Regions from separate parts of the Homo sapiens genome. Here region 1 is linked to region 2. The links are contacts of gene promoters, found by promoter capture Hi-C in blood cells and fetal thymus (Javierre and others, 2016). All regions are on one chromosome and are shown on one strand. The core of a region is centred on a gene start or on the middle of the fragment in contact, and the rest is flanking DNA. Distances in the headings are between cores, read along the strand shown.

Region 1 (4,751 bases), core at 1,879-4,378, 190 kb before region 2:
ACTATGAAACCATAAAAGAGGGTGACACTAATTTCTCTAGAAGCTCTGGGGAATGCTTTCCAGAAAAGCTTCTCCTTTAGATAATTAGGAAAGGCTTGTGTGTGTGTGGTGTGGGTATATGTGGTACGTGATTGGGTGTGTGTGTGTGTGTGGTGTGGGTATATGTGGTATGTGATTGGGTGTGTGTGTGTGGTGTGTGTTGTGTGTGGTATGCACTGTGTGTAGTGGCATGTGTATTTAATGTCTGTGTTGTGTGTATGTGTATGTATGGTGTGCATGTGGGTGGGTGGTGTGTATGGTGTGTGTATTTCTGGTGGGCATGTATGATGTGCATGTGGGGTGTGGGTGTGCGTAGGGGTGTGTGTGTGTGTGTGTGTGTGTCCCATATGATGGAGGACAGGTAGGGGGTGTCATGGCGGGAGGGAGATCGCCACAGACGTCCGGCTCCCTGCAGGAGGTGAGCAGTCCCGTACGGGCAGCCGGTATTAGGGCAGGAAGAGCCAGGAGGCAACCAGGTGGCTGGACGGAAGAGGAGGAGGGCAGTTTAAGGAGAGGTCTTGAAGGCTTTGCTCAAGAGTCTGAACTAGAACCTTCAGAGAAGGGAAATGACTAGAAACTGGGAAGCACAGGGTGCCCTGATGAGAACTGTTTTCCAGAGATGCACCTGCAAAGACAGCTGAGAGCTGTGAGGGTGGAAGCTGCAGGAATAATCCTCTGGAAAGTGCAGCTGCCCAGGTGGGCACAGCTGGGAGGTCTATGGACTCTGTCTCCAGGTGGTGGCTGCAGGGAGGCCTAGGGACAGGTCTCTCATCTCCAGGTGCTGGCTGCAGGGCCACAAAGCCAGCCCCCAGCCCACAGGGAGCCTCAGCTCTCCTTCCTGGGGGCTCCAGTCCCTATTTCCTCCCTTGGTGACCCCGTAATGGCCCTTGTCATCTGCCTCTGCACTGCTGTGTTTAGCGATTCTGAACGGTGCATGGAAGTGTGTTAAGTACCATGCTCCCGTCTCCTGGGTGAGATGTCTGTCCAGTAGTTCTAGGCAATGTCTCCTCAATGCACTCACCCTTGATGGGAGCCCATAGCTGTAAAGGAACTGAAGGCCTCCAACCTGCCCCCAACGATGGCCTGTGTGCCTCCTGCGTTGCTCAGCTATTGAAACATTGCCACAACCCTCACAGAGGTCCAATCCTTTCGTTTCATAGTAGAATCGTTTTGTTCAGTGTTATTTAGTCAATAAACTAAAAACTTAAGAAATCTTTCAATACAAAGCTGTAAGGTTTTTCTCTTGTCACATGTATTGTAAAGTCCCTGCCCCACCTAGGAAGATGTGATGTCACAAGCCTAACGTGCCTCAGTCAGAGGTATGCTAGAGACACTCAGACTCTGCTGTAAGCTGGAGATGTGCCGCCAAGGGTGGCCAGTGCCGCCCCAATCCCCAGTGGTGGCAATGGTAAATGTATCTGAAGGAGCAGGCTCTTAAATGTCAAAGATGGACACTGTCACTCCCACAGGAATACCAGTTACACCTCCACCTGTGCGCTGAGGGCTACAGGTGGCCAGGCCAGCACCCACGGCCAGCTAGAGAAGGTCTGGCATCCCTGCTGGGGACCCTCTCTCCCTTGCACTCCCCTGGGGGTCCCTGACTAAGCACTATTAGAAGTAGCACACTAGTGAGTCTTAAAAATACCGCACTCTTGCCAGGATGAGTAGGTTTTGCAGATTTGACAGCAATGTCCTGGCCTAATCCTTTGGAAAAGGACAAGAAATTCCAACCTGAAGATTTCTGTGTCTCCAGCAACTCAGCTCCAGATATTTCTGTAACTTTTATTTAGCATGAAGCGAACTATTAACCAGCTCCTGTGGGGAAAAGGTTACTTTATTGACCGCTTCCTAGCAAATAGAACATAGAGAAAGAAAACCACAGTACTTTTCCTCTTTGTTAATCTCTAATACAATTCCCCAGAGTAATGGTTACTTTTGAATTAGTAATTGCATTGAAGCAAGTTATTGTTTTTCTTTGGTTTCCCTCATCTTGTACATAATTACAAAAATTGGTATATGGGAGCAAGGAGAGAATTCCCGCTTGCTTTATTTAATCTTGATAGCTGATTTTTAAAAATACACATAATCTCTAATTGAATCTCTCTGTAACTTCCTACCCTCACTACTTTCAAAAAAACAAAATGAAGATAAAAAGTAAATCAAGGGGAAAACTACCAGGAGACTATTTCCAACAACAGATGACTCAACAAGCACCTGAGAATTTGTTGTACTTGTGTGTACTAAGCTTCTGAACTTCCTGTTTCAATAAAATGCCAAACAAGTTGTGTTTCCTTTACAAATAAGCTATTACATCAAGCCCTGTTCCTATAATTTCAGGTTTTTGTCTCCATTCCAACATTTTCTTTGGCAAATGTAGAAACATTCTAATTAAAGTGGAGAGGAAAACAAGCATCATTCATCACGGTGAGAATAATGGACAAAGAACATCCTCGGTTTTTTCATTCTTTCACTAAGCCGCGCTCTGCTTTAAACAGTTGGGGCCTGGCGTCATGCAGTCCCTGACTAACTCCGAGGTAATGGCTTCAAGTAAGCCTGAGTCACTTGGAAAAAAAAATTCCAAAGGTATCGATAATTCCTGTCACAAGCTTCACATTCCTTTAAAAATATCCTTCCGGTCCGCGGAGGAAGGCATTCCTTTTAGGTAATCACGTAACAACATCAAGGCTTCTTTTTAAGATACTGAGATTAGGAAGAGGACTTCCTACTCATGACCGTGGAAGCCTGAGTTGGAGGGAACATTCCCACTTCCCAGGCGCGCCTCGGATTTTCACTTTTATCAGGACTTTTAAGAGCCCCGTATTCGCGCTAGGAAGTAGCATCTCAATAGGTTTCACGCTTTTTAAAATACATGCCTTAAGGAATCAGAACTAATTAGGGTCTTTTCACCACCCAGCTCAGCGGGGCTGCATGTGCGTGTGTGCACACATGTGTTTTCACGCTGAGCTGAGATGAGAGCAATGCATTTTGGAAAGTTACATTCTGCAATGCATCGGGCGGGAAGCCGCAGCTCCAGCCTGGCCACCCTCGGCAGCCATCCGCTCTCTGAAGTGTTAGGGCGCCTTTCGGGTGGCAGGGGGCTCTTCTTAGTCCCACCACGCAGGGGGGAGCCGCACTGCGCTTCCTCACCCACACAGGGCCATGGCCTTCTCACGCCTGTCGTGAAGCCGCCCGCCGGCTCACACGAGAGGTTTTGCTTCAGCAAACATTGGGGTCGCTTGGGGGAAATGGTGTTTACCTTTTGGAAAGCCTTGGGTGTTCGGGAAGAAAGCCTGCTTTGCCCCGAGGAGAGCTGTTCTGGTGTGTGCCTCTCCCAGCCCACTCCTTCCTCTGCGGAGCTGGTGGGCCGGGTGGAGCCTGGACAACGACATTCCTCACGACCGCCCCCCACCCCATCCCCTTCTTCTCCCCTCATGTCTGAGGCTCAGAGCTGCACTCTGGCCGGTCGCCGGCTCTGTCTTTGGGTTCGGGGCTTCTGCTTTGCCTCCTACTTTCCAATCCCTCCCCTCCCTGCATGAGTTCTGTTCCTGACTGTGAGACTCTGAAAAGCTTGGCATGTGCTGCATCCTAAACTTGCTCTACAGACCCTCTTCCCCACCCTGGCTCCCCAAGGCTGGTGTGGGAACCCACGTATTTCCCAGGTACACGGAGTCTCTGGTGCTCACTCTGATTGACCGCCTTTGCCTCCCAGAAGCATCCCCTTTCCTCCTTCCTGCCTCAGAGCTAATTTCTGTGTCCAGGAGCATCCTCACCCTGTTGAGCGGAGGCACAAGTATAACTAAATACGTGAAGGCCCGCTGAGCTGATGTTGGCTGGAAAAGGACATCGTCATCTGGAAATGTGGCTGTTTATTCAGCAGACATGAGTGGCACGTCCTCAGTGCAAGGCTCTAGGTCAAGTGCTGGGGGCAGAAAGACCAACAAGCAGGGTTCTGCCCTTCCCTTTGGAGAGCTCACGTTTCTTCTAAGGAGATGGGTAAGTGAAGGGCAGGCCCACCTAGGATGTGCTTATGAGGGAGAGGACCAAGGTGATGTGGGTCACGGAAGGACAGTAGACCATATTCAGAAAGGAGTGGGTTCAGGAGGGGCGCAGTGAGGTGTGAGGATGAGAAAAGCAGGACTCTGTTGAAGGAAATGTTCCCAGAGACGAAGAAATTAGCAAAGAGAGGGAAACTCCTCTTCATTCCCTCTCCCTTCCTAGCGCTGAGCCCTCCCTCCGTGTTCCGGGTTGTCGTGTCCACAGCAGCACCAGCCCCCAGAGAAAACCCAGCAGAACTCTTGGCCGAGCTGGTGAATGTTCTGGGCTGGGAGAGGGCTCCGGGTTCCTGGGGCTGTTTGTTGTCTTTTATTTTTGCACAGTCTTCGGTATTTCCAATGGCACTTGGCACAAGTACATAAAATTCATCTTACAAGACATATTTGCCACTTGTAGCCAAAATCTGGAGTCTACCTTCTAGTCCTGGCTTTAAGGAATCTCTTCCTAGAAGTCTAATGTCTTCCTGAAGCCGAAAAAATAAGACAATGGTGGGAAACGCTGGGGCTTGCCTGTGTCCTGCTTTCACCATTGGCTCCGGGTCGACAGTGATGATGGTAAAGACGGCGTCCATGGTGCCTTGTGAGCAGCCAGACCCCACACAGGACTGAGGCTCATCCATTTGCTCCTCTAATTCTCACTGCAGGCTTATAGGCAGGTGA
Region 2 (5,244 bases), core at 1-2,500:
CTTAAAAATGTAAAAGACATTCTTAGCTCGTAGACCCTTACAAAAACAGGCAGCAGGCTAGATATGGCCTGGGGGGCATAGTGAGTGGACCCCTGTTCTAGTGGATATCCTCTTCTCAAAACCTGATGTTTAAAAGCATTTTCCAGGTGTGCCGTTGGTCAATGATTGGGGGTAACGCTAAAAGAAAACCAGGTTAATTTAACAAAATACTAACATTAGAAAAATAGCCACATCTGATTACAGACTTTGTATAAAGCCTCTAGTCTTTACTTTTGGCTATGAGGTTTTATGACTCCAGGCCCCACAATACAGGCCCCTTTTTTCTCACGGTCAAACTCTACAAGACACGTGTCCGCTATTCCCCTCTCCTGGGCTCTTCCAGGTGCACAGAGGGTGGGACTGCGTGCGGTATCATATACTGGTTAGGACAGCAGCTCCGGTCTAAGGCCCTGTCAGCACTGACTAGCCACACACAGGGAGAGTCACCTAAACGTCCGATGCCTTAGTTTCTGCCTGTAAAATGATATAAGAGAGTTGATAGAGCGGTTAAAAAAATCAGACAATACCATACTAGCCTAAGCACAGCGCCTGGCACACAAAGACTCCGCAGTAAAAGGCGGCTCCTATTATTGGAACAATTAGCATAGAAACTCAACTGCCGCTCCTCCAGGTGGGCCTCAGAGGGGGTCGAACAGGACCAGACCCAGGAGGGCCCCACACCAACTTCCGGAGGGCAGGACTCTGCCTGCCAGTGAGCCCCAGATCCAGGGACTAAGGCAGCAGGGGTGAAAGCAGGTAGGGGGAAAGGCGGGATTTGGGGGACAGGCAGCATGGGGGAGGGAGCAGGCAGCGGGGGATTGAGGGGAACTAGCAGCACGGGGGTTGGGGCACAAGCAGTACGGGGGAGGAAGCAGGCAGTCGGGGGTTTGGGGGGACAGGGAGCACGGGAGACGAAGCAGGCAGCCGGGGGTTTTGGGGGGACAGGCAGCGGGGGAGAGAGCAGGAGCAGGGGGTTTTGGTGGGACAGGCAGCGGGGGAGGAAGGAGGCGGCAGGGGGTCTGGGGGAGACAGGCAGCGAGGGAGGGGCGAGCGGGGCTCCTCCCACGGGATCCCCCGAGTGCGCCCGCGACGAGGGGTGCCGGTCCTCAAACTCCCGCTGCTGGAGCAGGCAGCAGGAAGTACCTCACCTTTCAGGATGGGGGCCGCCATGACAGACGGCGGGATCCGGCCAGCTGGCCTACGCGGTGCTTGCGAGCCTGGCGGCGCGCGCGGGCACTGGGCATGCGCGGGGTGAGCGCGCCGCCGTCACCGCGCTCCGCTGAATCCGCGTTTCCGGGATTTCTCTGTAGGTGAGGCGGGAGGCTGGAGGGAGCTGAGCCCCCGGGGAGGGGGCCCGATTCCGCCTCGCCGCGCCTCTGGCTGCTGGGCCGTGGGTTTTTCTCTTCTCCTGGGAGTAAGGAGGACGACGGCCCCTAACCCCTGAATTAGCCTTCTATTTCCATTAGTGACTTAGAAGCTACCCGGCGCCTCATCTGGGCTCACCTGAGCTGAGGATCAGGAAGGGGAGGGGGCACAGTCATTCCCTCGCGGACGCGGCGGGACCCCAGCGGACGGCTTTGTGCGGACTTTCGGCACCGTTATGCCCCCCTAGCCCGACACCACCTGGGGCTGGCGCGCCACGTTACTGTTCAGGGCCAGACGCACCGCCCTGCCTGCTCCGGGGAGCCGGACCTCCGATCCCGGGGATGGGGGACCCCGAGACCTCAGACCCAACGGAGGGGACTCTGATACCTCAGACCCCACGCGGGGACCCCGAGGCTTCAGACCCCCACAGGGTGACCCCGAGATCTCAGACCCCCGCAGGAGTACCTCCAGACCTCAAATCCCCAGTAAGGGAATGAAAGAGACTTCGGATCCCTGAGGCAGCAAATCCCTGTAGGGGCATCCCAGGACTCAGGTCACCGCGGGGTGAACCCAGACCTCACATTCAGGCAATCCCCAGGACGCCGATCGGCTGGCACTACCCACTGTCCCGGCCACCCCCCCTGGAGCTCAAAGGCTTGGCCCTCCAGCTGCTCCACCCTGCCGGCAACCAGGCTCAAACCTGCAGCCCGCGGATCCCCTGCCCCGGAAGCAACCAGATTCGCGGGAGGTTACCTGACTGATCCAAGGTGATACAGCTGGTAACTGATGGAGATGTTGGTAGTGAAATTCATGTACTTTTAGTTCTTTCTATGGAATCTAGAGGTAGAATACATGTAAAAGAATATCGACTACCGTCTACTCAGGTCTCTGTTTTATCTGTTTATTCATTCACTCTCAGCTTTTAATAGGATCCAATGAGCCCTCTGTGGTTCTGAAGAATTGCCTTGAGTATATGCAGCCTCAAAAAACCCACTTCCTAGGCTCAGTCTTTGATCAATATTTATCATTATCACCAGTTATTGTTCTAATAAACTCTACTCTGGAAATATGGTGTTATGGTTTACTTGGGAGTGTGAGTTCAGGGCATCATTGAAGACTCACGTACTTTTACTGAGAAAGTGACATTGATCTCTGTAGATTTTGAATTAAATGATATGATGAAGTATATAAACCAATTACTTTTGGTCAAGGTGGTAAAAAAAGTTTAGTATTTGATAGATTCTTCATCTCCACGATCACAAATATTTTCTCCTAGGATTTCTTCTAGAAATATTACTGCTTTAGGTTGTATATCAGGTCTAGGTTCTACTTTTTTTTTTTTTTTTCTCCAGGCAGTTTCTCACTCCGTTGCCCAGGCTGGAATGCAGTGGTGTAATCACAGCTCACTGCAGCCTCAACCTACTGGACTCAAAGGATAAGATCTGCTTTTAATTAATTTTTGTATACGGTATGGGATAGGGACCAAAGTTCATTTTTTTGCATGTATACATATCCAAATGTTCCAGCATCATTTATTAAAAAGTTATTTTTGTCTCTACTGCATTTCCTTTGTGCTTACATCAAAATCTGTGTTGCATATGTATGTGTTTCATTTTAGGCTTCCTATTGTGTTCCATTGAGCTATTTGTCTTTTTGCTGCCAGCACCATGCTGTTTTGATTATTGTAGCTATATAAATAAGTGATGAAATCAGATAGTTTATGTCCTACAACTTTATTTTTCAAGGTTATTTTGTATCTTCTAGATTCTTCAGATTTCCTTTTAAATCTTAGAGTCGACTTCTCATTTTGCACAAAAAAATACTGCTGGGATTTTGATTGAGATTGTGTTGACTCTACAGATGAATTTGGGGAGAATTGACATTTTAACCATATTGAATCTTCTGACCCATTAACATTTAGGTCTTTTAAAATTTCTCTGGCCAGACGCAGTGGCTCACGCCTGCCACTTTGGGAGGCCAAGGCGGGCCGATCACAAGGTCAGGAGATTGAGACCATCCTGGCTAACACAGTGAAACCCCATCTCTACTAAAAATACAAAAAATTAGCCGGGCGTGGTGGCATGCGCCTGTAGCCCCAGCTACTTGGAAGGCTGAGGCAGGAGAATGGCATGAACCCGGGAGACAGAGCTTGCAGTGAGCAGAGATCTTGCCACTGCACTCCACCTGGGGCAACAGAGCGAGACTCCATCTCAAAAAAAAAAAATATAACTGTTGTTAGATTTTAACCTAAGTATTTGTTTTTTTATTTTGTTTTTCTTTTTTTCTTCTTTTTTTTTTTTTTTTTTTTTTGAGACAGGATCTCACTCTGTCTCCCAGGCTGAAGTGCAATGGTGTGATCATGGCTCATCTTGAAGCCTCGACCCTCCTGGGATCAAGCTATCCTCCCACCTCAACCTCCTGAGTAGCTGGGACTACAAGTACACATGACCATGCCCAATTCATTTTTTAAATTCTTTGTAGAGGCGGAGTCCCACTATGTTGCCCAGGCTGGTCTTGAACTCCTGGGCTCAAGCAATCCTCCCACCTCAGCTTCCCAAAGTGTAGGGATTACAGGCATGAGCCACTGTGCAAGGTCTTGTGTTTTTTGATAATATCGTAAATGGTGATTTTTTCATTTGTTTCTGATTGTTGCTAATATATGGAAATATAGTTGATATCTGCAATTGATCTCATGTCCTGAAAACTTGCTAAATCTGCTTAATAATTTTTTGTACATTCAAAATGATGTTCTACAGGTAGTCGTATTGTCTATGTTGGAAGGAAAGCTTTTCCTCATTCAATGTCGGTCCTGTGTTTGAAGACCTGCAAATTAACTGATAACAACAGGTTAACAGGAGAAAAGACAAGGTTTAGAGTAACTCACTAAATAGAAATAAAGGTTTATAGATCCACTTAACAAAATGTGTTGGGAGATTTTGGAGTTTCAGTAGGAAGTTGTGGAAGGTTCTTTTGGGCTTTTGGATGCTTATGAGAATGGGCAATCTGTCTCTACAGTAGTGGAATTTACAGGAAACTTCCTCAGAGGGAGGCCAATGGCAGCTGTATTTTCTGGGGGCTCTGCTTTAGTGAAATAAGGGAAGTTCAAATAAAATTTCTTGATGCGTCTTTCTTAGATCAAATATTTTCACAGTAAAATAATCTTTATACCAACTTTTAGGGCCTGAATGGTCCACACATTTCTCCATCTGAAACTTCCCTAGAAATTTCATTAACAAAAAAAAGAAGCTAAGTTGATTGCTGTGGGGAGATGATTTGAGTTAGAAATTGTAAGATGAGAGATCTGTAAAAGGGGGAAAAACATAGATTAGAACAAGGAAACAAAAACAATGATTAATGTTCAGAGCAGACGATAAACCCAGTCTAGAGGGTAAGCCAGTTATGAAATTTTCTAGATGTTGGGCTCCAGCTATCTTTAGTGAGGATGGTAGTGGTAGGTAGTGTTGCCATCATGGTTATTTCCTAGAGCACAGTCTGGAAGATGCAGGTGTTCTGGGGAAATATTTGAAAGACCCACGTGTTGTGATAAGTCTTTTGAAGTTTCTGTCTAGCCATCCAGCTTCAGCTTGCAAGGCTTTGAGAAGGAATCAGTTTTAGTTCTCAGTGACGTCAAGTCAGTAGAGTGGGAGGAAAATTGGAAATACTGATTACTGACAAAATATGTAAGATGGCAGGATCCAGGTTTTGTTTTGTTTTTTGTTTTGTTTGTTTGTTTTTGAGACTGAGTATCACTCTTGTTGCCCAGGCTGGAATGCAGTGGTGCAATCTCGGCTCACTGCAACCTCCACCTCCCAGATTCAAGCGATTCTCCTGCCTCAGCCT

The links. Contacts are between HindIII fragments. The CHiCAGO score rates a contact against its expected background, and 5 or more counts as called.
Region 1: a fragment that was not itself captured here is called in contact with the fragment with the promoter of MCPH1 in region 2 in 7 of 17 cell types (total B cells, fetal thymus, non-activated CD4 T cells and 4 more); the score reaches 8.2 in total B cells.

Annotation. Positions count from the first base shown.
Region 1 is chr8:6,597,153-6,601,903 of GRCh38, reverse strand. The region is part of intron 12 of MCPH1 (microcephalin 1); the gene reads right to left. Among named protein-coding and RNA genes, the nearest start is that of MIR8055, 23 kb to the left of the region's middle. RefSeq lists an enhancer at 2,118-3,317. The HindIII fragment of the contact is 961 bases long and covers 2,648-3,608 here.
Region 2 is chr8:6,402,633-6,407,876 of GRCh38, reverse strand. MCPH1 (microcephalin 1) reads right to left here and starts at 1,250. Exons shown (of 14, transcript NM_024596.5): 1 at 1,188-1,250. The coding sequence starts at 1,209. It overlaps MCPH1-DT (MCPH1 divergent transcript), which reads left to right and starts at 1,329. Exons shown (of 2, transcript NR_040040.1): 1 at 1,329-2,171; 2 at 2,757-4,321. RefSeq lists silencers at 989-1,168, 1,429-1,508. The HindIII fragment of the contact is 9,682 bases long and covers 1-4,192 here.